2 separate regions of the Homo sapiens genome follow, and region 1 is linked to region 2. The links are contacts of gene promoters, found by promoter capture Hi-C in human tissues and cell types (Jung and others, 2019). All regions are on one chromosome and are shown on one strand. The core of a region is centred on a gene start or on the middle of the fragment in contact, and the rest is flanking DNA. Distances in the headings are between cores, read along the strand shown. Region 1 overlaps ASPM (assembly factor for spindle microtubules). Region 2 holds the start of ASPM (assembly factor for spindle microtubules).

Region 1 (3,664 bases), core at 346-2,845, 35 kb after region 2:
ACTGTTTTATATCTTACTAATGAAATTTCTTGTTTTTCTTTTATTGTTAGTATTTTTTGTGTATTATATAAGGAGTGTTTCTTTATCTTCTTTATCTTAAGGCCTTGTAGATGTATGCCTATGTTATACTCTACAAGCATTAATGTTTTGTCTTCCTCATTTTGATCTCACCTAAAACTAATTTTTAGATGATTTGTTTTAGAGGACATTTAAAAAATATATGGCTATCCAGTTGTTTCAGCATGTTTTACTGAAATGACCATCCTTGCCCTTTTGCCATGCTACCTTCAGTATACATTATATATTCTTTTTTTGTTTCTTCTACTTCTATTTTAGATTCTGGGTATATGTGAGCAGATATGTTACATGGGTAAATTGCATGTCATTAAGCCTTAGTGTACAAATGATCCTGTCACCCAGGTATTGAGCATAGTACCTGATAATCTTCCAACCCACACTTCCCTCTGACTTGCGCTCATCAAGCAGTCCCGGTGTCTATTGTTCCCATCTTTGTGTCCATATGTATTCAGTGTTTAGCTCCCACTTATAAGTGAGAATATGTAATATTTGGTTTTCTGTTCCTGTGTTACATCACTTAGGATAATGGCCTCCAGCTAAATGCACATTACTGCAAAGGACATAATTTTTTTTATGGCTGCATGGTATTCCATGGTGCTTATGTGCTACATTTCCTTTTTTTGAAAATTACCTTTTATTTTAGGTTTAGGGGTACATTTGCAGGTTTGTTATATGAACCCCCAAAATTTGAGTCAGGTCTCAGTTAATTTAGAAAGTTTATTTTGCCAGAGTTGAGGATGTGCACCCATTACACTGCATCAGGAAGTCTTGACATGTGCCCAAGGCAGTCGGGGCACAGCTTGGTTTTATACATTTTAGGGAGACATGAGACATCAATCAATATATGTAAGAAGTACATTGGTTTAGTCTGGAAAGTCAGGATAACTTGAGACAAAGGCAGGAAGACCCAAAGCAGGGAGGGGGCTTCCAGGTCAGATAGGTGAGAGACAAACAGTTGCATTCTTTCAAATTTCTGATTAGCCTTTCCAAAGGAGGCATCAGATATGCATTTACCTCAGTGAGCACAGGGGTAGCTGAATAGAATGGGAGACAGGTTTGCCCTAAACAGTTTCCAGCTTGAGTTTTTCTTTAAGCTTAGTGATTTGGGGGGCCCAATATATTTTTCTGTCACAGTTATATAGGTAGACTTGTGTCATGGGGGTTTGTTGTACAGATTATTTTGTCACCCAAGTATTAAGCCTAGTACCCATTAGTTATTTTTCCTGATCCTTTCCCTCCTCCCACCCTTCACTCTCCAATAGGCCCCACTGTGTGTTGTTTCCCTCTGTGTGTCCATGTTTTCTCATCATTTAGCTCCCACTTATAAGTAAGAACATGCAGTGTTTGGTTTTCTGTTCCCGTGTTAGTTTGCTAAGGATAATGGCCTCCAGCTCCATCCATGTCCCTGCAAAGGACGTGATTTCATTCTTTCTTGTGGCTGCATTGTATTCCATGGTATATATGTACCGCATTTTCTTCATCCAGTCTGTCATTGATGGACATTTAGGTTGATTCCATGTCTTTGCTATTGTGAATATTGCTGCAGTGAACATCACGCATGCTTCTTTATGATTGAACAATTTATATTCCTTTGGGTAAATACCCATTAATGGGATTGCTGGGTTGAATGGTATTTCTGCTTTTAGGCCTTTGAGAAATCACCACACTGTCTTCCACAATGGTTGAGCTAATTTATACTCCCACCAACAGTGTATAAGCATTCCTTTTTCTCTACAACCTCACCAGCATCTGACTTTTTGACTTTTTAGTAATAGCCATTATGATTGATGTGAGATAGTATCTTATTGTGGCTTTGATTTGCATTTCTATAATGATCAGTGATGTTGACCTTTTTCCATATGATTGTTGGCTGCATGTATGTCTCCAGTGTGTGTGTACCACATTTTCTTTATCCAGTCCACTGTTGATGGACGTCTTGGTTGATTCCATGTCTTTGCTATTGTGAATTAGTTCTGCGATGAACATATGAATCCATGTGTCTTTTTGGTAGAATGATTTATTTTCTTTGGGTATATACCCCGTAGTGGGTTTTCTGGATCAAATGGAAGTTCTGTTTTAAGTTCTTTGAAAAATCTCCAAATTGATTTTCAAAGTAGCCGAACTAATTTACATTTCCACCAGGAGTATATAAGTGTTCTCTTTTCTCTGTAATCTTGCCAGCATCTGTTTTTTGACTTTTTAAAAACAGCCATCTTGACGGGTGAGATGGTATCTCACTGTGGTTCTGATTTGTATTTTTCTGATGTTTAGTGGTGATGGGCATTTTTTCATAGATTTCTTGGCCGCATGTGTGTCTTCCTTTGAGAGGTGTGTATGTCCTTTGCCCATTTTTTAGTGGGGTTATTTGTTTTTTGTTTTTTGAATTAAGTTCCTTATAGATACTGAATATTAGACCTTTGTTAGATACATTGTTTGCAAATATTTTCTCCCATTCTGTAGGTTGTCTGTTTATTCTGTTGATAGTTTATTTTGCTGTGCAGAATCTCTTTAGTTTAATTAGGTCCCATTTGTCAATTATGTTTTTTGTTGCAATTGCTTTTGGGGACTTTGTTATAAATTCTTTCCCAAGGCTGATATCCGGAGTAGTATTTCCTAGGTTTTCTTCTAGGGTTTTTATTGGTTTGGGTCTTACATTTAAGTCTTTAATCCATCTTGCATTAATTTTTTGTATGTGGTGAAAGGAAAGCGTCCAATTTTAATCTTCTGCACTGACCGTTTATTGAATAGCATATCCTTTCCCCATTGTTTGTTATTGTCAACTATGTCAAAGATCAGGTGGTTTTAGGTATGTGGTTTTATTTTTGGGTTCTCTACCCTTTTCTATTTGTGTAGTAGACATCAGCTATTCTTATATGTGTGATTCTGTTTCTAGTATTTCTTTCTATTCAATTGGTCCATTTGTCTATCTTTGAGCCTCGCACTGTAGCAGTAGGTGAAATCTGGATATCTAGTAGGTAATCCTCCTTCTTTGTTAGTGATTTCACACAATTTCTCCCAATCTGCAGCTTGTCTTTTTATTCTTGTAACAGGGCTTTTTGTTCAGCAGAAGTAGTTCATTTTATTGGAATCCAGTTATCACTTTTCTTCTTTTATGGATTATGCTTTTAGCGTCATATCAAAGTACTCTAAAAGTTTTATAATTTTTCATTCTAAATTTTGACCTATGATGTATTTTGTGTTAGTTCTCCTCTAAGGTAAGGGTTAGGTCAATGTTCACTTTTTTTATATATACATGTCCAATTATTCCAACACTATTTGCTGTAAAAAACTATTCTTTCCACATTGAAATGTCTTTGCACCTTTGTCATAAATCAGTTGGTCATATGTGTGTTGATCTTCTGGACTGTATTCTGTTTCATTAATACATGTGTCTATACCTTCATCAATACCACAGTTTCTTGATTACTGCAGCTTTATAGTAAGCCTTAATGGATATTGTGATTCGTCCAATTTTATTCTTTTTTCAAAATGAGTTGGAATTTTCTAGTTGCTTTGTCTTTCCATTTAAGTTTTAGGTTAGTTTTTCTATGTCCTCAAAAAATACTGTCAAATTTTGATTGAAATT
Region 2 (3,599 bases), core at 443-2,942:
ATTTTTTTTTTTTTTTTTTTTTTTTTTGACAGCGTCTTGCTCTCTTGCCCAAGCTGGAGTTCAGTGCCATGATCTCGGCTCACTGCAACCTTGCCCCCACCCCCCACCCCAGGTTCAAGCGATTCTTCTGTCTCAGCCTCCGGGGTAGGTGGGATTACAGGCATGCTCCACCACGCCTGGCTAATTTTTTTATTTTTAGTGGAGACGGCATTTCGCCATGTTGGCCAGGCTGGTCTCAAACCCCTGACCTCAAGAATCCGCCTGCCTCAGCCTCCCAAAGTGCTGGGTTACAGGCTTGAGCCACCGTGCCCAGTGGAAAAATTTCGTTTAAATATTGTTAAGGTCCAACTTCAGGTGAAATTGGACACCATTGAATATAATTTCATGTCTCATCTTCCTTATTTTGATTTCCCATTGACTTCTCTTTTTACATGTTTTGTGTAACCATACATACATCCAGACATTATTTTTATTTTTTAAGTTTTCTACTGCCTTTAGAGGCAATATAGTGTAGTGGGTAAGAGCAAGACTAGGGCCAAACTGCTGGGATTACAGGCATGTGTACCTATCTGGGTTATGCCACTTCCTACTTAGCTGTATGACCTGTATTCCTCATCTGTAAGATACAAATAATGGTACCTACGCCCTAAGAGATACCTCGTAGGTTTAAGGCAAAGGTTGAGATAAATAGGTAAAGGATTTTTAAAAAATCCCTAGCCTAGGGTCGGGCGCCGCTCAGGCCTGTAATCCCAGCACTTTGGGAGGCCGAGGCGGAGGCAGGCGGATCACTTGAGGCCAGGAGTTCCAGACCAGCCTGGCCAACATGGCGAACTCCCCTCTCTACCAAAAATACAAAAATTAGCCAGTCGTGGTGAGGCGCGCCTCTAATTCCAGCTACTTGGGAGGCTGAGGCAGGAGAATCGCTTGAACCCGGGAGGCGGAGGTTGCAGTGAACCAAGATCACGTCACTGCACTCCAGCCTGGGAGACAGAGCGAGACTCCATCTCAAAATAAATAAATAATTTAAAAAATCCCTAATATGTAAGCTATAATTATTATTAGATCCCTACAATTGAAATAAAAACTAATAAGATATTTGTGAAGGGCATTGCCAGTCAAAACAATCATTTATGAATTACTGGTAATCTCAGGTTTCATTTGTTTACCTGGTTTTGCTCCCAGCGTCCCGAGGTAATTAACAGCATGTAAATGTACTGAGTCCCTGCTATGTTGTCACTAAAATAAGCATGTTCATACAAACTAATTATCTTTACATCTCTACCATTCAGCCCTGGAAACCGCGACAGTAAAGTTAATATAATTCTGGGCGGGGTATGCATATGAGAGGAGTGGCATAAACCAATTTTTGCCTACGTAACAGTTTTATCTATGATTGTTCCTGGAAACCGCAATGATTACTACATGTATTGTGGAAATGCTGTGACTCCCTTCCCTTCAGCACAACCAAAAATATAAAGACGAATTTCAATTCTAAGCCCCGGGTTTTAGACGGTGGCCAGGATTCCGCTACCGTTCTCACCTCCTCCGCAGATAGCGATTGGCGGCCGGATGCAATCATTCAAATGAAGCGCCGCCGTCTCATTGGCCAGGGGATGCTGCTCACCGATTGGTCCCGTGACGAGGAGGGCGGTGCCCGGAGGTCCTCATTGGTGGAGGCGGCAAGTTTAAACAGAGTCAAAACGCCATACTTGTTTGGCTCCTCTTTTTAATTTGCGAGTTTATTGGGCTTGTTTTCTGTTTTCTAGGGAGTAGGTTAGTGGAAAAGAAAAAGGGCCGAATTCACTCCCACGACCTCTACAGCCGCCCCTGAGGGGAAGCGGTCAGCGTAAGTCCCGGATCCCCGCTCCGGAGCCGCCTCGTGGGAGCGGGGCAAGGAGATCCAGGAGGGGTCTCGAATCTGCCATGGCGAACCGGCGAGTGGGGCGAGGCTGCTGGGAAGTGAGCCCGACCGAGCGGAGGCCGCCCGCGGGGCTGCGGGGCCCCGCGGCCGAGGAGGAGGCGTCTTCCCCGCCGGTCCTGTCTCTCAGCCACTTCTGCAGGTCTCCTTTCCTTTGCTTCGGGGACGTTCTCCTGGGAGCCTCACGGACGCTGTCTCTGGCCCTAGACAACCCTAACGAGGAGGTGGCAGAAGTGAAGATCTCCCACTTCCCGGCCGCGGACCTGGGCTTCAGTGTGTCGCAGCGCTGTTTCGTGTTGCAGGTAGGTCTCAGGAGGAGCGTGCTCCAGGCCGGTGTTCTGCTTCTCCGCTATCTTTCCTGCCACCCTCCTCAGGAAGGTTGACGATTGGAGAAGAAATCAGAAAAGACCCTTAGAGAATAAAGTCAGTTCCCTTTCACTCAATAACTGTGGGTGGCTCTTGGAAAAGAAATCAGAAAAGACCCTTAGAGAGTGAAGTCAGTTCCTTTTCAATAACTGTGGGTGGGCCCTTGACGCATACACATGTGTGTGAGTATATATATATGTGTCAATATTATATATATATATATATATATATTCTCTAATTGAAGGCTAGGATAGACGCTAACTTGGGCGGGGACAACACATAAACGCGCGCGCACTTAGCATCTTTAGGAGCAAGTTATATAGACTTCTCTGTTAAATTGACAAGCACTTTTACTAGACTTAAGGCGTTGTGAAATAGCCTTGCCGTTCTAAATTAATAGACAATGCACTTTTTTAACACTTTTTTAAGATTGACAGGAGTACCTTGGTTGGTTAAAGCAGCTTTTTTTAAAATTTCTATCAGCCATCTTAATATGCATTTTAGTTTCCATATGTACCCTTAGAGTCGAGGTAACTGGTTTTTTTTTCCGGTGAAATAGTGAGCTTTGTTCTGGCTAAATGCCTACAATAAAAACCAAAAAAACCTATTCAGAGTTGTTTTCAATATATACGTGTAGTATGTATGCACACTTTAGTATTTTAGTCCTTTTTTTCTTTGCTGTTAAGTGTAATTTTAATGCTGCATCAAATTTAATTTTATAAATGTTGTTTCAAGAACTCCTGTAGCTTTCTTTTACTGCATTGCATTTGCAAGAGTAATGCTCCAATCCCCTTCACCAAAGACTGGAGAATTTATGTTTTTATTTTGACTGCTGTGACCTTTCCATTGAGTAGAATCACCAAAAGTATGAAAACCGTTAGCCGAGGAGGTCTGAACTAGTAGGCTAATAACCACTTCATTAGGCAGAAAAAAGAGATTCTAATCTGAGGTCCCTTAACTTGTGTGTCACCAATGGTTCATCTATCTACACTTCAGAACCTACCCACCCCGCCCCTCTGTTTCATGAATCACTGCCTGCTTTCCTTTCTTTGGAAAGACAGATTTCTTTTCTATCCACATAATACTTCAACTTACTCTTTTTTGTTATAATGTGGAACTAAATTTTGTGGTATTTTTAGAATAAACTATTTTATAGAGTAAAAATGCACCATTCTTATTTTTTAAAATTAGTTGTTTATGATGTTATATTATTTCTCCTTTAAAACAGAAACTTGTCTGTTTCTCCTGAAAAACAAAATTTGTTTTGTCATGTCAGCGTTTAAATTTGGCAGATTCTGTCTACCTGCCAGGGTGT

The links. Contacts are between HindIII fragments. The study calls those that stand out against the background at their distance.
Region 1: a fragment that was not itself captured here is called in contact with the fragment with the promoter of ASPM in region 2 in 1 of the 25 tissues and cell types used here (thymus).

Annotation. Positions count from the first base shown.
Region 1 is chr1:197,110,028-197,113,691 of GRCh38, reverse strand. All of the region lies in intron 17 of ASPM (assembly factor for spindle microtubules), which reads left to right. Among named protein-coding and RNA genes, the nearest start is that of ASPM, 35 kb to the left of the region's middle. The HindIII fragment of the contact is 5,520 bases long and covers 1-3,664 here.
Region 2 is chr1:197,144,762-197,148,360 of GRCh38, reverse strand. ASPM (assembly factor for spindle microtubules) reads left to right here and starts at 1,692. Exons shown (of 28, transcript NM_018136.5): 1 at 1,692-2,220. The coding sequence starts at 1,924. RefSeq lists a silencer at 2,008-2,187. The HindIII fragment of the contact is 11,107 bases long and covers 1-3,599 here.